Linked DNA regions of Homo sapiens: regions 1, 3, 4, 5, 6 and 7 are each linked to region 2. Evidence: promoter capture Hi-C in 16 types of primary human blood cells and fetal thymus (Javierre and others, 2016). All regions are on one chromosome and are shown on one strand. The core of a region is centred on a gene start or on the middle of the fragment in contact, and the rest is flanking DNA. Distances in the headings are between cores, read along the strand shown. Region 1 has its middle 16 kb from the start of GABRA5. Region 2 holds the start of MAGEL2 (MAGE family member L2). Region 3 overlaps HERC2 (HECT and RLD domain containing E3 ubiquitin protein ligase 2). Region 4 has its middle 42 kb from the start of GABRB3. Region 5 overlaps GABRG3 (gamma-aminobutyric acid type A receptor subunit gamma3). Region 6 overlaps GABRA5 (gamma-aminobutyric acid type A receptor subunit alpha5). Region 7 overlaps GABRG3 (gamma-aminobutyric acid type A receptor subunit gamma3).

Region 1 (2,854 bases), core at 81-2,580, 3.2 Mb after region 2:
TCATTTTATGCCCGAACTTTACCTTCTGTGTTAAAGTGTAGCCCCCTTACTTGGATGAACACGGAGTGTCAAGCGAGCAAAAGAGTGGTCTGAGAGCTGATAGTTACTGGGCACTTGGGCTAGGTGGGCACACCACCTTCACATACATTATCTCAATTTCTCCTCATCTCCCTCCTAGGAGGCAAAGGTCATCATCCTATTTAGAGATGGAAGACCAAAGGGCCCAAATCCCTTGCACGAAGGTCACCCAAATAGTAATTTGGGTCCAATGTCAGTACTTGGACCCAGATCCGTCGGACCCCAAAATCTGTATTCAGAACTGTTTCTCCTGACTGCCAATACTGTTTTTGGTAGAACAGAGTCCCAGGAATCTCAGTTTCCAGTCACTCAGCAGCAGCTTCATCTGTTGAGTGTGTATTGGAAGGCTTCTTTGCTTACGTTAGGAGAAATCATTATGTTTCTTTTAAAACTATGTGGCTCGTTGATGTTAATTTCTTCTAAGCACTTAAGAAGTATTTTAATTTATGCTGGCATTTGAATTAGTATGGCATTATTTCAAAAGATGACAGTAATTCAAAATTCTGAAGGCTGGAAAACATCCAATCAAAACAAAACCAAAAGCTAACAAAGCTAACAACATCATAGTAGGCAGCACCTTTCCTTGAGGAAGGCAAACTGTTCTGCAGGCATATGCCAATCTGGAGATGTCTCTGCTATTTTGTCAAAGTGGGGATTTTAACCACATTTAGCAAGTACTGCTATAGCCTGTGAATGTGAACGATTTAACTCAAATGGAAGTTTAGTGTGAGACTGCGTTTCCCGGGTGCTTGCCACCTCTTTTGTATCACATTCTCAATTCAGATCAGTGTACTGTGGTCTATTTTTACCTCTCCCAACTCAACATACTGTTGGTTCTGTACAAATATGTATTGGGTCTTCCATTGATCAGTAAAATAGTTTTATTGTTCTTAAAAATATATGACAAATTGGTCTTAGGTATCATTCAGCATCTTGTTTCAATGAAGAACTTCTGTATCTTATTCGTCAGCTTTCTTTCTCACAGAAATAGATACCATTCCAAATCTTCTGGTATTCTTTTTATTTTATTTTATTTTATTTTATTTGAGACAGAGTCTCACTCTGTTGCTCAGGCTGGAGTGCCGTGGTTCGGTCATGGCTCACTACAACCTCCACCTCCCAGGTTCAAACGATTCTCCTGCCTCAGCCTCCCAGGTAACTGGAATTACAGGTGCCTGCCAACATGCTCATCTAATTTTTAAATTTTTTTAATTTTTTTTTTTTTTTTTTTTTTTTTTTAGTTGAGACGAGGTTTCGCCATGTTGGCCAGGCTGGTCGTCTTGAACTCCTGACCTCAGGTGATCCACCCACCTTGGCCTCCCAAAGTGCTGAGATTACAGGCATGAGCCACCGCACCCAGCCTCTTCTTTTGATTTTTTTAACCTGTCATGGCTTGCTGAATCAATGCAGCTGAACTTGATACAAGTTCCATGCCATTTCACTTAGGAATTAACTTGTTTTCCTGGGCTTAAAATATCAAGCAACACCCGACCTCATCCAAACTCTGCAGATATATTTTTTATCCAAAAAGTTGTGAATGTCAGCAGGACACCTGGTCTCCTGAATGATAACTTTGTTGGGAAGGTGAATGCAGGCAACTTCATTTTGTAGTGGAGATCCTTGATCATGTTTGGTCAATGACAATATAGAGTGCAAAAATAGCTGATTTCTTTCTTTTTCCTACCATTCATCAACCCAGGGCTGCTTGTTTTTCTTTCCAAGGAAGCTGAGTTTCACATTGATGTGATTGAGGTTCCTCTGCAGGACTCTTCTGGGGTCCTTCATAAAATGTGGATGTCCCTTCTAAGTGATGTTGACATTTTATGAGAGGTCAACTGTCTGGTTGTTGAGAATGATGATCATTCTCACTATAGATGCTGCAAGAATGGACCACGTGCTGATATTCCCACACTCTCCTCTGTTACTTGTTCAGAGCCTTACCGATGGTGTGTGGTGAAGGTATGCTAAACTTTTACATTGGACCTGTTGTCTCTGCCTTTCCCAGCACTTTTACCCTCTTACCTATTTTATTTATCTACAATAAACTATTCCTAGTGTGTGTGTGTGTGTGTGTGTGTGTTTAAGCTACCAGACATGGATATTTCCCCTCCTTCTTGGCAAGTATGTGGTCAACTCTAGATGTATTTGAAGTCCTATTTTTAAATACAGGCTGAAATGGGTATCATAAGGTCCAACATTTGTGTCTAGGGGAAGCAAACAGGGTGTGAAACACTATATCCTGAAAGAAAATAATCTTCCAATTCCTTGTAGAGAAGCAAAACACATTTATATGCTGACTTGATGTGCAAGTTTCCAAGGCTTTCTGTACATGCACCCAAATTAGGCTATAAACACCTAAACCTTTAAAAATAGCTTCATAGTATAAGCATTGTTATGCAATTTGCTTTTTTTAAATTTAAGAATATGTGTATTGAAAACAAAATGAATTATTTATGGATAAAAAGATATGATATCTTAAGTTTGCTTAAAAGTAATTCTGAGGGTATGAGCGAGTGAGGGTAGAGATGTCACAGGACTGGCCGTGAGCTGATAGCAGTTGTGGCCGGGCCATGTGTGCAAGACAGCACGTGTTTGACCCTAGTACCAAATTACCATGGTTATCCTCATAGAAATAGCAGTAGGCATATGCATGATTATTTCTTTTTTTATTTTTGAAACTATTTGTATTGCAAAACAAAATCACATACAAAGTGCACACAACAAAATATTTAGGACAACAATTTATCATCAAGCGAACATCTGTTGAGAAATGGCA
Region 2 (2,700 bases), core at 66-2,565:
CTGCCAGGTGACCTGCGTGGTCTGCCAAGTCAGGGGAGTGGCCTGCCAGCCTTGCTGCGTGGCCTGCCATCCTGGCGAGGTCGCCTGCCAGCCCGGGGGTGTGGCTAGCTGCGCTGGGGGTGCCTGCGGGCCCTGGGGAACCTGCGGAGGAGCCCTTATAACTTGAGACTGGATTTGCAGGATCAGAGGCTGAGCCTGCGGGGCCCAAGAAGCCATCGGCTGTGCAGGTGGGGCCATCGGCTGTGCAGGTGGGGCCGCCGGCTGTGCCATCGGTGCTCCTGAAGCTGGAGGCTGGGTCATCGGAGCTCTCGCACCTGGAGGATGAATCATCAGGACTCCTGGACCTGGAGGCTTGGCCATCGGTGCTCCTGAAGGCTGAGGCTGGGTCATCATGGCTGCTGGAGGCGGCTGGACCATCGGTGCTCCCGGAGCAGCAGGCTGGACCATCAGGACTCCCGGAGTCAGAGGCTGGGCCATCAGGACTCCCGGAGCTGGAGGCTGGGCCATCGGTGTACCCGGAGGGGGAGGATGAGCCATCGGTGTCCCCGGAGGTGGAGGATGAGCCATCGGTGTCCCCGGAGGGGGAGGATGAGCCATCGGTGTCCCCGGAGGGGGAGGATGAGCCATCGGGGTCCCCGGAGGAGGAGGATGCACCATCGGGGTCCCCGGAGGAGGAGGATGGGCCATCGGGGTCCCCGGAGGAGGAGGATGGGCCATTGGGGTCCCCGGAGGGGGAGGGTGGGACATTGGGGTCCCCGGAGGAGGAGGATGGGCCATGGGAGCTCCGGGAGCTGAAGGATGCACCATCAGGACTCCCGGGGTCGGAGGCTGGGCCATCGGGGCTCCCGGAGGTGGAGGATGCACCATCAGGACCCCGGGAGTCGGAGGCTTACCCATCGGGCCCCCCAGCGGGGGAGCCGGGACTATCGGGCCCCCTAGGGCAGGAGGCTGGGTCATCGGAACCACCGGGGCGGGCAGCTGGCCCTGTGGGGCCTCCCAGGCAGGCTGAGGTGCCTGCCAAGCGGCCAATGAAGCCTGCAAGTCAATTGGAGGTGGATCCCAAGGGACTGGCGGAGCCCGGGAGGAAGCGGGCGGGGCCCGCATCAGAACCGTAGGGCGGCTATAGACAGGCGGCTTCGGGGCCTCCGCCGGAGGACTCGAGTCACCCAGATTCTTACTTAGCTGCGACATGTCCCTTTGCTGACAGCTGGTGGGTCTTTTCCTCGGACAGCTGCTGGGCCTTTTCCTCCAGAGAGAAGAGAATGCCTACGTGGCTGTTCAGAGGCTCCCTCCCTGCTGAATGCTGAATAGGAAGTGAGTGCTGCTCGCTCCGCAGCTTTCCGCAGTAAGGAGGAGGGGGGAAGGGGGCTCAATCCCGCCCCTTCCCCGCCCCCGACCACCACAAGTGGATATTGCATAGGGGCGTCTACCGGAGTCCTGGCTGACACAGGATCCCTTCTCACTCTGTCCAGTCCCCAAATGCAGACCAGTCAGACTCCACATGGATGACTTTTCACAGGGGAGTGACAGGAACCCATCCATGTTTTAGAAAAATCACTGTACTGCAGTGTGGAGTGGGAGCAGACCACTGGAAACATGGAAGGTATCCAAGACGGCGGGGGGAGATGGTGTGGTCTGGGCTAAGATGTGAGGCGGAGAATGAAAAAAGCGCATTTACATAAGAGAGTTCCAGGAGTTATAGCAGACAGATACCTGTATTATAATTGAATAAAGGAGTCAAAGACATGGAAAAGGCACACAAGTCCCTGCCTGGAGAAAGTGGGAAGTTGCAGGGACTGTTACTCTCTTAGGGTCCCAGGAGAGGCACACGGGAAGAGAGGCTGATGAGTATTGGCAGACACAGGGCATTTGCGGTGCTGTGGGACTGCCAAGGAGAGATACCCTGTAGGCACTCCTGTATGATGTCTTGGGAGTCCTGCTTGGCTATTCCTCATGAAAATAGAGTTGTGGGAGGGAATGTGGTTGCACTGGGTCTTGAAGAACACAGGCATGTTAGAGACACATGGAGAAAAGGGACAGCAGCGAGTAGAGAGAGAGGAAAAGAAGTCACGGAACTGAGACATGCCACACATCAGTGGAAGACAGCATTTTTAGTATGGGAAAACTGCCTGTGGAATGGCTCGGATGCAGGAACAGAGTAGGTTTCTCAGTATTTTTCATCTGCAGAATGGGAAAGAAATTTAAAAAATGAAAACCAAATAACGCACCTGAAGATAACAAAATGGGTATATAAATAGATCAAAAATTGATATATTTGGATATATAGGAAAAACAGGCAAAGAATAAAAAAATTTCTGGGGAAACTTCTCGTGACAAAAATCAGTTTAAATATGAGACAAATCAAGTATTAACAGATAAAGCAGATGACAATAGTATTATTGGGCAATGCTATACAACTTTATGGTGAGAGGAAGTGATAATCTCAGTAATTGAAAAGCTTTCTGGAAATATACAAAGCACTAAATATCAAGGATGTTTCGTTTAAATAGGCTGTTGGCAGCCTACGGCAGGAGTCCAGAGTGACAAAACGTGCCACCAGGGGGCAGATGAGGACGATGAAGGGTACACCCCACTCCTTCCCAGGTACCCTTAGCCAGGGGTCCTCAAATTTGGTAATTTATGGACCCAAGAGAAGGTATGTACACACTCCCAATGTTATTATTGCCTTAAACAATAATA
Region 3 (3,001 bases), core at 39-2,538, 4.5 Mb after region 2:
CATCTTCTGAGTACCCGAGGCAGTCTCCAGTCCTCAGCACGTGGCCGGGGCTGGCTCTGCCAGTGCCTGCAGCTGTGCACAGAGCTTCCGACGGTCCACCACCGTCAGGCCCTCAATGCTAGGCACGGAAGTCAACAGCACCTCGTTCGCTTCCACAATGTTGGTGAAAGGCACGATCAATATTAAAAGTCTTTTCTTTTTCTTTTTTTTTTTTTTTTTGATACAGAGTGTTGCCCAGGCTGGAGTGCAATGGTACGATCTCAGCTCACTGCAACCTCCGCCTCCCGGGTTCAAGCAATTCTCCTGCCTCACCCTCCTGAGTAGCTGGGACTACAGGTGCATGCCACCACAGCCAGCTAATTTTTTTTGTATTTTTACTAGAGACGAGGTTTCACCACATTAGTCAGGCTGGTCTCGAACTCCTGACCTCAGGCAATCTGCCTGCCTCAGCCTCCCAAAGTGCTAGGGTTATAGGCGTGAGCCACCGCGCCTCACCCTAAAAGTCATTTTTATTGGTAACAGTCTCAAAAACTAAAAGCAGATATTCAAGATATCTACTGTCACTCCTCAAACAGATAGTACATTTTAACTCAAGAGCAGGCACAGGCCACAGCGACACAGTCTCAAGCGGCCGAGAAGCTCACCCAGGAAGCGGAACATGCTGCTGTGCACGGGTGCTCTGGCGGCCGGGCTGAGCAGGTAGCAGTCTCGGTTGGCCCCAGACTCATCCCTCCCGTTGGGTGTCACGATCAGCAGGGGCGTGAGTCCGTTCTGCAGCTCCTCACAGATCTCAGCTATGGACTCGCTGTAGCCGCCCCCACAGTCATCCACAGATTCACCTGCAGGGGAGAAGCAGCCACTCGAAGTCCCCTCACACAGTCCTGTGTAAAGAGAGCCCCAACGCTCCCACACCATGTGGCCTCTGTGCTCCCTGTGGGCTCAGGCGACCACTGCCGGGGACACAGGTGCTCCAGCACGTGGCAAGTTCTCACCCACAAACTTGACTTTCCAGACACGGTGAGGAAGGAGGAGGCTGTCGGGACCAAACGAGCTCATCTTAGCACACATCTGCCCAAAGACAGACTTGGTGCCGTCGGGGCCGGCCAGCCCGCCTTTGCTCCTTGATCGTTTGACCTGGAGAGGAGGAAGCAAGCAAGCGTGAGGCCGCTGCCGCAGCAGGAAGCACACAGTCGGGGATATGCGGCACTGGCGAATGCACGAGGAGGAGGCACCGTGCATGGGCCCCTCCCTGGTCACACACCTGCTTGTGTGGACGCCAGGCAGACCCTGCCGTCTGGGGCGCTCGACTGTGGACACCCGAGACCGCTGCCTCACCCCATTGGGCATGTCGCCAGTGATGTGCCCAGCAGCCCCCAGGACTAGTGTGTCTGAACAAACACACCTTCCAACACGACACACACCACCACCACGTCCACAGCTGCGGCCCGGCAGCACCACCCTGGCACGGACCATCCTCACACCCTAAGCACTGCTGCTACTTCACCATCTTGCCACGACCTCATGAAATAAGACACCAGGAACTCCAAAAGCAGCTCCCCCAGCAGACCAGAACAGACTCCCGGCACTCAAAGATTCAACCCAATGCCCCTGAGACTGAAGCAGACACAGTGAGTGAGTGCCTCAGCCAGGACCAGCCCTTCCCCACATCTGCTTCCACCCATCCCATTTCCAAGCCTTGGGGCCACTCAGCCTCCCCAACACAGGCAGTCACTCCCTGCCCATCCTTCTCATCCTAAGCTACAATTGCTAAAGGCTCAGGGGCCTCCAATTCCCAAAGACACCAGGGCAGGAGCCCTAGGGCCCCGCCGCAGCAGGACCTCGGCACATCGGAGGGCAGGTGGCCGAGGCTGTGCATCAGAATCATCTGGGAAGCCCAGTCTGGAAGGATGTCAAAAAGAAAAATTGAAGAAAAAATGGTCCTGAGAATGTATTTTGATGACTCCTCCAGTGAAGCTCTCTTCACCTTTAGCTCACTTAAAGTTGAGTTTAAACAGCTTACAGAGCAGGCTGCCATAACCAAGACTAAAAATACAAGAAGAATGACAGGAGCCACAGTTGCCTGTAGAATGAACTTGTCTGCGTGCCACACACACGGCTAGTGTTCACAGACGTGAGTTCCTGGAAACTCGCGGCAGCTTGTTAAGGCTCCATCATGCCCAGAGGAGACTAGGCTACAAGAAAAGAACAGGACATGCCCTATGTCACGGCGGCTGTGTGAGAGGAGAGGTGCACCCAGCTCCCCGAAGCCCACGGGGCTGCCTCTCCTCCATGACGACACCCACTAGTAGAGGCTGTCTGCACTCAGAGGCTGCAGAAAACAGCAGCCATAAGGCTGGAGGCAGACAGGCTCCTGCGGGACAGCACTTTCTCTGCTCAATAGAAACACAGATGATTTTAACTGTCTTTAATCTGAATTCCCTAAATTTTCAGAAATGTGCATGCAATAACTCTGTAATAAATTTTTAAGTATAAAAAAGTTTTTATGTAGTGATGTTCAGATCCTGCTATAAAACTAAATAAAATTCCCAACAAACAAAACCTTCCAGTAAGATGACCTGTGTTCTGGAGTCTCTGAAACTATCCAGACAGCTGTGAGAGTCCCTCCCATGGCATCCTCTTGGGAGGCGTGTCCCTGAGCCCATCATCGCAGCCATGGGGTGGCGGGTTGGAGGCGCCTGTGCAGCCTTCCTGGCTCCGTGCTGGTGTCCTGTGCACACCCTGAATTCAAACAATGTTTTTCTCCATGTTCATTTTTAGGCAGAAAATCACTTCTATTTCTACATCTGTAGAAAATTTCCTCGCTTTGGGAGGGGCATGCTACCCTGAACGGGAAGGAGCCACCTCTGGCACCCGGGGCCGTGGCTGAGCCAGAGCAGCCCCCAGACGTCAATCCACATTGCACACTAGGCTGAAGGGTGTTTATCTGATTCTTAAGAAGGCCTGACACCACGCACGGTGGCTCACGCCTATAATACCAGCA
Region 4 (2,700 bases), core at 183-2,682, 3.2 Mb after region 2:
TAACATTTACCTTTGTAACAAATGTGGACATCTTACACATGTATCCCAGAATTTAAAATAAAACAAAAATAAAAATAAACAAAATTGGGCAAAAGACCTGAATAGACACCTCACCAAAGAAGAAACATGGATGGCAAATAAGCATATGAAAAGATGCTCAACATCACATGTCCTCAGGGAATTACAAATAAAACATAAATGCTATGCCCCTACACACCTATTAGATTGGCTACATTGAAAACACTGACAATACCAAATGCTGACTGAGCCATAGAGCAACAGAAACTCTCATTCATTGCTGGCTGGGAGGCAAAGTAGTCCAGCCACTTTGAAAGACAGTTTGGCAGTTTCTTATAAAACTAAAGATACTCTTACCATTTGATATGGTTTTGCTGTGTCCCCACCCAAATCTCATCTTGAATTGTAATAATCCCCATGTACCATGGGTTGTGCCAAGTGGAGATAATTGAATCATGGGGGTGGTTTCCCCCATACTATTCTTGTGGTGAGTAAGTCTCATGAGATCTGATGATTTTATAAATGGGAGTTTCCCTGCACAAGCTGTCTTGCCTGTTGCCATGTAAGACATGACTTTGCTCCTTATTCGCCTTTTGCCTTGATTATGAGCCCTACCTAGCCATGTGGAACTGAGTCAATGAAATCTCTTTCCTTTATAAATGACCTGGTCTCAGGCATGTCTTTATTAGCAGCATGAAAACAGACTAATAAACCATTTAATCCACAATCATGCTTCTTGGTATTTATTAATTTGAGTTGAAAATGTATGTCCACACAAAAATCTGCACACGAAAGTTTATAGTAGCTTTATCCATAATTGTCAAAACTTGAAAGCAGCCAAGATATCCTTCAATAATTGAGGGTCTAAACAAACTGTGGCACATTCATATTATTAAAGATTACTCAGAGATAAAAAGGGATAAGCTATAAAGTCACAGAAATTCATGGAATGTTCTTAAATGCATACTGCTCAGCACAAGAACCCAGTCTTGGCAGGGTACGTGCTGTAGGGTTTCAACTATATGACATTCTGGAAAGGCAAAATGATGGAGACAGGAAGAAGAGATTAATGGTTCTTAAAGCTTCAGGGGGAGGGAAGGAGGGTTGAATAGATTAAGAACAGGAGGTGTTTAGGGCAGTGAAACTACTCTGTATGATACTATAATACACACAGAATATGTTACTATTATACTATACTTGTTCTCAAGTACAGATATGTCATTGCACATTTTTCAAATGCTGTAGAATTTACAACACAAAGTGTGAACCCTAATGTTAATAGTGAATAATAAAAAACATCAATATTTTGGGTATACTTGTCCTGGTTCTCAGAAAAGGGACACTCCCACAAGTGGGCACGTTAATAACCTCAATAACAATGAAGCTATTGTTGCTTGGTCACTTTGGGTTTCTCATGCCAGTAAACTTGATGGCTAAAACTGGAGTTGCCATATGGTCAGGGGAGTTGACCCACGTCATTATGAGGAGGAAGGTTACAGACAGGAATATATTTGATTTTCAGATATCCATTGGAGCATTTCTTGATGCTCACATGTGGATGAGTAAATAAAATTATATATATGCAAAAATGATAAACTAGAATTATGTTTAATAATAAATTATGAATTCTACCAATAATATTTAACAACTACTATAGTTTATATTACAGTACTGAGACTGGGTATATGAAAGGAAGGAAGGAAGGAAAGAAAATAGGAAGGAAGGAGCGGTTATATTTTTACATAGAAAAGCTTTGAACATTAAAAAATAATGGGCCCAGAGAAGAATGAACTTTGGCTGGAATGTTAGCTGATTTGGTTTGGAGGTTGGGAGTGGTTGGTATCTAGAGAAGTCTTAACTGTGAAATTGTAGTGTAGCTGAATCTTTAAAGATTAAAGGAAAGTATTACATGATTAGTTTTCTTTAAATATATGACTTCTAAACAGTTACTGCAAGATTTTGTTGTCAGTTTGTTTCTTTCTAAGAGAATATCAGTTGGAGAATATGATTTTATATGCACAAAATAATTACATGGGCATTTTTTTTTTTTTTTGCCAGTCATTGTGGAGCAATGTGAGAGCATGGTGATAAAGGTAAGGAACATGTTTTCTTTTTTTAACTCCTCTTCTGAGTAGCTGTGTGATCTTGGACAAGCCTAAACTTCGTGGGCTACCTTTCGAAACATGGCAGATGAGGACGTCTGAAGCTCCTTCCCATGCTAAATCACTTGATTTCAAACTTGCATACACTTAGTCCTAGAATCAGATGCCCTGATAGAATTCAACAAAACTTTCATTTAAAATTATAGCAAAATTACACAAGTTAAGGTGATACTATTTCATCATTATATTCTTTTAGTCTCTCTCTATGTATTCCTTAACATAATTTAGACAAGCATTTCAACAACAAAATACATAAAATAAGTTATAGACTTATATTACAATCACTACTAATACTCATAGCATTAGTAAGAAGTGAAAACCTTTCATTGATAAAATGCAGGCATCATGGACGTACCTGGTTTCATAAATGGCATAAAATGTTCTGTGTTCTTTGACTGCGTTCCTGAAAAAAAAAAAAACACAAAGAAGGATAAAAGGTAATCTTCATGATTATTGCTAAGGTCTAAAAGTCCTTTAATAAGCATGTTCCCAAACTCTGTCTATTTAAGATATCTTGACT
Region 5 (2,904 bases), core at 149-2,648, 3.4 Mb after region 2:
GAGATGGTATCTCATTGTGGTTTTGATTTGCATTTCTCTAATGACCAGTGATGTTGAGCATTTTTTCATATACTGCATATATGTCTTCTTTTGAGAAGTGTTTGTTTCATGTCCTTTACCCATTATTGATGGGGTTTTTTGTTTTTTGCTTGCTGGTTTGTTTAATTTCCTTATAGATTCTGGATATTGGACTTTTATTGGATGCATAGTTTGCAAATATTTTCATCCATTCTGTAGGTTGTTTACTCTGTTGATAGTTTCTTTTACTCTGCAGAAGCTCTTTAGTTTAATTAGGTCCCTTTTGTCAATTTTTGCTTTTTTTGCAATTGCTTTTGATGTATTCATCATGAAATCTTTGTTCAGTATATGTTATCTACTGTCCATCTTCTCTTTCTGGAGCATAATACAAACTCTTACTAAACATACTACAGCTAGTGTTACATATGACAGGTAACTGGTATTGAATTGAAATTAGCCTTAAGTGTTCCCAGCATATGGGCCTTTTAAAATTAATTTAGCTAAATAATTATATTTTATGTGCATTAAAATAACAACAGAAAAATTCACATCCAGAATCAGTGTTGAAAATATGTAAGTATGTATTAACCTACTCAAATGCATTAGAACGTAATCACTAAGTATTTGGCATTAGTTTATACTGTTAATCTGGAAGGTTAAACATGAGCCCACGTGGCTAAAAAGAGTAACTCACTCTCAATAGTCTCATATTCTGAATATTTGTATTGCAGGTTCAGGTGACTTTTTCTTGTCACTCAAAAAATGTGCACATGCCCTTAATTTTCACTCCAAAAATAGATGAACAGTTCTTCCAAATATAGATGGGATAGGAATCTTTTGGCTGACAATCACTCAGAGATTCAGTCGAGAATTGAATCTGGGGTACTCTGCTGTGCTAGAAGTTGGCAGGCCTGTGTGGCCTCCATAAATAAAACTAATTAATCTGGCTGTTTTCTTAAATTCCCATATTGCTTGTCTAAATATCAGGTGCTGGCAGCTTTTTTTTTTATAACATTCTCCCCCCACCACTCCCTACCATCCCCCTGCAAAAGGGCACACACCTCATTTTTTTAAGTTGGAAGGAAAGGGAAGGAGAGAATATTAATCCGGTAAATGGCACCCGCAGAGCAGCCACTGCTCACTTTCAGGGTCGCCGTGAGCGGACATCTCTGCAGTGCTGCTCTGGGGTAAAGCTCAGCTGAGGCGATGATGGGTGTCAGTTGGCCTTTTCAATGGCACCTCGCTAGGGGCTGAGTCAGAAGAAAATCCAGCATCTGTTCCCATTCTCAGTTCAGCTGCAGCCCCCATGGATGAGGAATGTTTCCAGAGAAGAGAGGTAGGGGTGGGACGGGGCGAGGATGTAGAGCAAGGAGAGGGAAGAAAGTGCAGGGGACAGGACGGTAGGCTCTGACAGTCCTAGGCTGAGCTCAGACTCTGCTCACGGTGCCGTCTGGAAGACACTGCGTCCCCAGCTCACTCTTCAGCTGCCCTGAGCATCGACACATACTCCACAGGTGCACACTGGACTGCTGCGGGCTCCTCTAGGTTGACATAAAGAATTCCAAGTTGAGAGAGCTCGAATACTGATAGCAAACCGTGTAGAACAAGCCGTCAGTGTTGTAATAGGGTGGGTTGGTCTTGGGAATCTTTTTGCTTTTCTTCTCAGTTTTGTTCTGATGTCCCCTTACTGAGCTGGTTATATAGACTGGAAAGTACTAGTCCTACCAAGATATTTGCATTTTTGTCAGAGGACACATGACGATTGAAAAAACCGTTAGGATCCAATATATACATCCTACATATTTACATATTTAGATAAACAAACAAGCAAAAGTTCTAGCCAGGTAAGGAAGAAATTTGGGAAAGGCTGAGAAAGGTTTCCAGTATTTTTCAGCTTCTAATATGTATTTGTTTGCCTAGGACTTTACTTAGTGAGCCTACTGCTAAGACCATACTCATGTTCTAAATGCTCAGGGAAAGCTAACAATGCCTACATTAGGACAGTTCTCATCCTCAAGGCAATGAAAGCCTTTTGAGGCCCAAACAGTATCATCAATCCAAATTTGGAGCCAGATTCAAAAGGGCAGCCAGGAAGGTCTGGCCATCCTATGGTGATCACACATATGCCCCAGCACAGAACTGACCATCTCTCCTAAGATGTAAAGCATGCTTAAAGTGGGAGTCCTAGATTCCTCAGGCAACTTCTTCTTCCTCTTCCTCTTCCTTTCCTCCTCCTCCTCCTGCTCCTCCTCCTCCACCACCTCTTCCTCCTTCTGCTTCTGCTGCTTCTTCTTCTTTCTTCATTCTTCTTTCTTCTTCTTTTTTTTGACAGGCTCTCACTCCTTCATCCAGGCTGGAGTGCAGTGGTATGATCATGGCTTACTGCAACCTCTGCCTCCAGGGCTCAAGTGATCCTTCCACCTCAGCCTCCCAAGTAGCTGGAGCTACAGGCACATACTACCAAGCCCAGCTAATTTTTGTAGTTTTTGTAGAGCCGGTGTTGCATACCTAAGCTAAGGTGTTGCACACAAGGCTGATATGTCACATACCTAGGTTGATAGCTTGGGATCTAGGGTAATTTGTTGGATATCCAGAGCTGTGTGCCACCCCTCCTCCATAGGCACCTTCCTAGGAATTTTGTCCTCTCTCTGTTTGTGCTTTCACCTGAAAGAAAGATTCTTCATCAAGGAACGCCCAGGCCACAGAATGAACAGGGTGATAACTTTAGCAATCAGGGTAAGCAGCTAATTAAATATTCTAGAAATGCAGTAACTTGCTTGATTCTTTTACCTAGAACAACTGAGATAGCTTCACTGTGGTCAAAACAATAGCCCCAGGCATTCCTAAATTTAAGAGAAGATCCAGGGTAACATCAGTTTGGCTCTT
Region 6 (3,002 bases), core at 236-2,735, 3.2 Mb after region 2:
GGACCCCCAGTGTGGCTGGGAGGAGGAACAGGGCTGAGTCTAGGAAGGAGGGCAGGGTGGGAGAGGTGGCTCTGGCCTGTGGGGCCATAGGGCTTGGGTTTTACCTTGTGGGCAGCAGGATTCTGAGTTGGGCAGCAGTGCCAAGGGCAAGAATGGAGAACCTCCATGAAGATTGAGGAATACACTTCAGTAGGATTTCAGGAGCTGCAGGGAGAACTGGGGGATTTTAGGATTTGGCAGGAATATCGGAGAGTTCTAGCATGATGTTCCATGGCACAGACTCAGAGCCTCATAAAACAATGTGGTGCCTGTCCATGTTTTCCACCTTAAGAGGGGAAAGCTGTTATTTGGAACCCTGGGATTGACCCTCACTGTCCAGCCAGTGTCCATCTTGGTTTTGTTTTTCTGTTACATTGTTGTTGTTTTTCTAATATGGTGCTTAAGTGATCGGTAATGGGCATTTGAGGAAAACATCACACAATGGTGCCATTTAGAGGTACTCATTTAATGACCTGAAAGTAACAGACAAATAAACAGAAGAGACATTTTTCAGAAGTCATTAAATACTGGGGAAGAACAAAGTTTAAGAAGACAGATAAGCTGCAGCTTAAAACAAGCCCAGTTCAAGGTCCAAAGTAATTTCCAGTCAAAATACGTCTGCAGTTGCCATTATCGAACTCACTGTATGTAAGTCAGAAGTGGTCATCCATATAAGAGAAGCACGTCACACACTGCCTTCACTAGCACCCGTGGTGGAATGACAATACCGAAAAGATTTTTTCTTCTCCAGAAATGACGCCACAACTTGTACTCTTTCAAGTACCAAATAAGGAAAATGTTGGAACTGAGAATATGGCATAAGTGGGACATGTTTTGTAGAGAATATGCATTCAATATAAGGAAATAATTCCTATTTTAAGAGAACCTAGTGAATTAACCCAGACTAAAATTGAAGGGTAAGTCACCAAATTTTCAAATATTTCTGTTATGTCTAAGACTGTTGTTAGTAATAGGGATATAATCTCAGCTCACAAAAATTTACTTCCCCAAAGAATGGAGCCTTTATTTGTCCTTGAAGCACTCGTGGACTCTGGTCGACCTCAGGATGAGCAGAGCTCCTGGGCTGTACTCAGTGCAGTTGAGAAAAGCAGAAGTGGCGCGTCGGCGAGTGTAGGCTGCCTGCTGACCCTAAACGGAGTGAGCGCTTTATGGGCTGAGGACATCTTGGTTTCCACCTGTAGGACTCATCCGTCACACGCTGCACATTAGTGCTCACCAAAGGCATAGCCCTGGATTTCTGTGTTATTTTGTTTTTCAAGTGCTTTCAATGAGCCAAAATGGAACAAAGCAAGCTGAAGTTCCTCCTTAGCTTAGCAGCAGTTCTTAAAGATCATACAGCTTGATAGAGGCGCTAGCCAGTTCCCCAGGCATGTGTGAAGGTCTCCTGTATGAAGGCACTTACACACCAGGGGCTGAGAAAACACAGCATTTGCCTTCTATGATACAGCACGAGCCTTTCTCTCCATGGCTGTGAAAGCGGTGTATTTCATAACCACGCACTGCAGATGAAGCATTTTTGAGGATGGCCTATGGACAGAGGAGGGCCTCCAGCTCATGAAAAAACAAAACAAACAAACAAAAAAAAACCCCTCTGCTCCTACCCCGATAGGCATCATCAGAGCTTTTTAAGAATCTGTTTCTTCCCTCCTAGAGGCTATCTTCAGTTAATACAGCAAGGACAACACTGCAAATCCCCAGCCATGGCCCCATCGTACAAAGAAAGGTCTACAGATAAAGGCAAAAGGCAGTATGGCAGGAAAGGGCAGACACTGACATTCCTCCAAGAAAAGTGTAATTATGTGCAAATGTGTGTAGATATACTGAAACTAATGAAAATAATTTTGATCAAGAAGTAGAATCCGAGCTTTGAAATTCTTAAGCATAGCATTCTATTCCGTCACTGTGGGAAATGATTAGGGTATTTGTGAGTGGGATTCAGAGCCCAGTGGGATGGTGTTTCCCTAAAACTGGCAGAGCAGGAGTGTCTTTATCTCCGCTTCTGGAGAGAGCCACGGAAAACAACGCTCACAGAGACATCACTGTGGCTGCACAGCCTCCAAATGGTCAATCATGAAGTCAAGCCCTTGTCTCTGGACAGCCAGGGCTGTTACCATCTAACACAATTTAGGAACATTTTCACAACAGAGAATGGAGTAGCTTAGAAAACTTTAATTTCACCATTAAGATCTGCTTTTTCTACTAGTACCTCAATTGGTAAGATAAAGAGACAGCAAAGACCTTCCAAAAACTGAGCACCTGGACGTGGTCTAAAATTGAGTTGCAAACTCGGTGACAATTATGAAGTCCATGAGAAGTGCATCATGAAGCCAGATCTGGTTTGACCAATAGTTACACAACTGGGCAGGTACAAAATATAACCTTCTTTTTTCCCCCTGCAAAACTCTGAAGAAGAAGGCTGTTCACTGGGAGGAGCTATGCTAGGCTTAGTGCTATGTCTTTCCGAAGTGTGCAACTACCATGGATGTTGGAGAAAGGGGAATTTAATGTTTTTAAATATGAAATCACAGAGTTAAAAAAGTATACATCTGTGGGCTCCGTACTAACAGGAGTGAATTTTAGCTTGTTAGAGCTTCAAGTATATGCATTTTTATGGTGATGTGAAACTTAGATCAAAAGAGCATTATTCCTTTATTCTTTATTCTCTCATTCTATTCAAAAGGGAATAGCTTTAGGGCCAGCAAAGAATTGATCTGTTAGATGCAATCAATAAAAATGACTGACTTTTAAGAACAGGGTGGAGCAGGCCTGCATCGATTCTGACCTCAGCATCTCTCCATGGCTGGTGGCTCTCAGCTCTGATTTCAGCCTTTTCATGGGAGAGAAAGCACTTTAAGCACAGCTAGGGCCCCACAGCTGGGCACTTCAGGGAAGTACCAGGAATCACATGTTCTTCTCCCAAGTGCCCAGGGCACTCGCTTCTT
Region 7 (2,719 bases), core at 92-2,591, 3.4 Mb after region 2:
AAGCCCTGCTCATGTGTGTTTCCACCATGTCCTTGTGATGCTATGTATGAGACTTTAGGACTTGAATGTGCTCTCCTCTGTCTTTCTCCGGCACGAAGTATTAACATACATGTATTTTTCTCCACAGTAAAACCGACCGTAATTGACGTTGACATTTATGTTAACAGCATTGGTCCTGTGTCATCAATAAACATGGTAAGAAGCTCCTTTATTTTCTGATCTAACGGCTGTTGCACCTCTTCTTGTTACATTCTCATTGTGGATTTCTGTTTGAGATTTATCATGCCGGTTTAAAACTCACACTGACTTCTTAAATCTGTAACACTTATTGGAATATTGAAAATGGTAAAAAAAAAAATGAAGAAAGATAGCTTGTGATGGTAGTAGCATTTCCACTTTTAGTTTCTTCTTTCAACATCCAAGAGACCTGTCTTTTATAGTGTTTCTTAGGAAAGGATTCGAGATCACTCAGATTATACTTTTGTCTTCAGTTTGGACTTTGAGAGTAAATAAACTGCCTCTGCTTTTTAGTATGGGATCAAATATGTGCTTTCCCCGAGTAGGGTATTCCCACAGGCTTATAAGCAAATTCAGCTCAAGAACTATTGGATGTGAAAGAAGCCCTTCCCTGTGCAAAAGTGCCTGGCTATGAAGTGAGTGTGGGGGTATTGAAATACGTTAGGGTGAGAGCCTTCTGTGGTGGGCTGAAGGCCACAGTCCACCTGCCAGCAAGGGGTTAACAGGACTACCTAGGATCCCCAAGCAGGCCTGTCTATTGCAGCCTCAAGCATTGTCAGGAGCTCCCCCCGCCTGCGGAGGTCCTGCCTGTGCTCCCTGCTGCACATTTGCTCCTGATTTGGGGAGACGTGAGGCCGAGGGAGGGGAATTGCCAAAATGCTGACTTAAATTTCTTCTTTTCATTGCAGTGTTCTGTGGATGGAAATAACCCCTCCAAAATTAGTAGCAAAATCGTTTCTTTTCATTGCCAGATTTTAAAAGTGTTCTTTTCTCTGGTGATATAAGGGTTCCATGCAGGGGTAAAGTTATATTTGTGGGTGATTCACTTAAAAAATCTCCATATCATCCCTAAACTGGAGCAAAGAAGTGGAATGAATAAAGGAGAATTATTTCACACAACCTATGTGCTGCAGATGGCTGTATATTAAAATCAAGTTGTGAGTGTAATATTCCCTTTTCCTGATACATCATTATTCAGTTGACTGCTCAGAGTAACCCTTTCTTATGTATGTTTCTTGTTCTGGAGTTTTATTTTCTTGCATTTGTTCCACAACCGTTTATTCAACACCTTTACGTCTAACATGTGTTTATGTCTAACACTCAAAGAAGAAGTGCCTTCCTGGATATATGGTTACAGAATTATTTCAGGAAGTCAATTGCATTTGCATATAGAGGGATTTTCCTGCAGGCCTTTAACTTTAGAATTTACTTTGTGCCTCGTGTTAGGCTTTGTTATTGGAATAGACGGGAATTTTCATGTGGAAATCACGGGCTGCAGAGAAGGAGGCCGAGTGAGTGACAGGCTCCTTCACGGTGATACGGCCCTGCTGCAGGAGTGGAAGGGACTTCTCCAGTGAGGTCCTCTTCATCTGAAACTTGACGGATAGGCAAGAGTGTGCTAGGTGGGATAAAGTTTGAAGGTCCTTAGTAACACAGGAGGACAGAGTGCGTCACACAGCTGGGGACGAGGGAGTGATGTGTGGAGAGATGCCTGGAGGGGCACATGGGGGCAGCTGTGACCAAGGCCCTGAAGCTGCAGTTAAGGGTCGGACCTCAGCCTTCTCTTCATCCAAAACAGATCCCTGCGTTTGGAAACTGTGAAAACCTTTTCCCATCAGAGATCTGAGCAGGTCATATTTCATGAGATTTGTTCAAATCCAGGCCGGGCACAGTGGCTCACGCCTGTAATCCCAGCACTTTGGGAGGCTGAGGCAGGCAGATCACAAGGTCAGGAGTTCGAGACCAGCCTGGTCAACGTGATGAAACCCTGACTCTACTAAAAATATAAAAAATCAGCTGGGCATGGTGGCAGGCGCCTGTAGTCTCAGCTACTCGAGAGGCTGAGGCAGAAGAATCGCTTGAATCCAGGAGGCGGAGGTTGCAGTGAGCCAAGATTGAGCCACTGCACTCCAGCCTGGGTGACAGAGCTAGACTTCATCTCAAAAAAAAAAAAAAAAAAAAATCCAGTAAGATCGCTAGTCAGACCCCTCTCTCCCTGAAAAAAAACAAAAACTACATGATGATGCAGAGCTCACATTAGGGACTTGAAATCATGAACTCTGATCCTTCCCTGTGGGGTGAGAAACGACCTTAGAATGGCCGGGGGCATTGTAAGCCCTGGGCCCTGGAGAAGAACACGTGTGCACCAGCATCCTGCTCATCTGGAGGCTGACACAGCAGGTTTCCAAGGCTGAGCTGTGGCAGGATGTGGAGTAGAAAGCTATTTTCTATTAACTCTCTCATTTGTAAAACTTGCCCTGAATATTTTGAAACTTCACTTAGTCCAGTTGGTTTTCTTTCTAGCATGGCTCTCTACCCTACTGAAGGGGTGGGGAGCCTGTGTGGCTGCCTGCTGCTGTGTGAGTTGGAAGCAGCTGGCACGCAGCCCTGGGGAAGCCGAATGCTAGCAAGTGCTTTCCTCTGCAAACAGCGCCGAGGCCGCAGTCAGCGCTCAGCAGGGATGGCACTGTCTAGGCCATTC

The links. The method cuts DNA at HindIII sites, captures the fragments that hold promoters and counts their contacts. A CHiCAGO score of 5 or more calls a contact.
Region 1: a contact is called between a fragment that was not itself captured here and the fragment with the promoter of MAGEL2 in region 2, in 6 of 17 cell types (endothelial precursors, M2 macrophages, M1 macrophages and 3 more). The highest score is 20.2, in endothelial precursors.
Region 3: a contact is called between a fragment that was not itself captured here and the fragment with the promoter of MAGEL2 in region 2, in 1 of 17 cell types (endothelial precursors). The highest score is 5.0, in endothelial precursors.
Region 4: a contact is called between a fragment that was not itself captured here and the fragment with the promoter of MAGEL2 in region 2, in 4 of 17 cell types (endothelial precursors, M0 macrophages, M1 macrophages and 1 more). The highest score is 9.2, in endothelial precursors.
Region 5: a fragment that was not itself captured here is called in contact with the fragment with the promoter of MAGEL2 in region 2 in 2 of 17 cell types (M0 macrophages and M2 macrophages); the score reaches 7.5 in M0 macrophages.
Region 6: a contact is called between a fragment that was not itself captured here and the fragment with the promoter of MAGEL2 in region 2, in 7 of 17 cell types (endothelial precursors, M0 macrophages, M1 macrophages and 4 more). The highest score is 17.3, in endothelial precursors.
Region 7: a contact is called between a fragment that was not itself captured here and the fragment with the promoter of MAGEL2 in region 2, in 4 of 17 cell types (M2 macrophages, M0 macrophages, non-activated CD4 T cells and 1 more). The highest score is 7.8, in M2 macrophages.

What each region holds. Positions count from the first base shown.
Region 1 is chr15:26,849,670-26,852,523 of GRCh38, forward strand. It overlaps the pseudogene RPL9P26. Among named protein-coding and RNA genes, the nearest start is that of GABRA5, 16 kb to the right of the region's middle. The HindIII fragment of the contact is 3,890 bases long and covers 1-2,854 here.
Region 2 is chr15:23,646,552-23,649,251 of GRCh38, forward strand. MAGEL2 (MAGE family member L2) reads right to left here and starts at 1,316. Exons shown (of 1, transcript NM_019066.5): 1 at 1-1,316. The coding sequence starts at 1,191. RefSeq lists an enhancer at 1-603. The HindIII fragment of the contact is 5,160 bases long and covers 1-2,456 here.
Region 3 is chr15:28,116,021-28,119,021 of GRCh38, forward strand. HERC2 (HECT and RLD domain containing E3 ubiquitin protein ligase 2) reads right to left here. Exons shown (of 93, transcript NM_004667.6): 87 at 993-1,134; 88 at 645-839. Among named protein-coding and RNA genes, the nearest start is that of OCA2, 18 kb to the left of the region's middle. The HindIII fragment of the contact is 5,691 bases long and covers 1-3,001 here.
Region 4 is chr15:26,813,832-26,816,531 of GRCh38, forward strand. No RefSeq gene overlaps it. Among named protein-coding and RNA genes, the nearest start is that of GABRB3, 42 kb to the left of the region's middle. The HindIII fragment of the contact is 669 bases long and covers 1,099-1,767 here.
Region 5 is chr15:27,007,620-27,010,523 of GRCh38, forward strand. All of the region lies in intron 2 of GABRG3 (gamma-aminobutyric acid type A receptor subunit gamma3), which reads left to right. Among named protein-coding and RNA genes, the nearest start is that of GABRG3, 38 kb to the left of the region's middle. The HindIII fragment of the contact is 6,028 bases long and covers 1-2,904 here.
Region 6 is chr15:26,876,879-26,879,880 of GRCh38, forward strand. The region is part of intron 3 of GABRA5 (gamma-aminobutyric acid type A receptor subunit alpha5); the gene reads left to right. Among named protein-coding and RNA genes, the nearest start is that of GABRA5, 11 kb to the left of the region's middle. The HindIII fragment of the contact is 3,533 bases long and covers 1-3,002 here.
Region 7 is chr15:27,026,627-27,029,345 of GRCh38, forward strand. It overlaps GABRG3 (gamma-aminobutyric acid type A receptor subunit gamma3), which reads left to right. Exons shown (of 10, transcript NM_033223.5): 3 at 128-195. Among named protein-coding and RNA genes, the nearest start is that of GABRG3, 57 kb to the left of the region's middle. The HindIII fragment of the contact is 5,080 bases long and covers 1-2,719 here.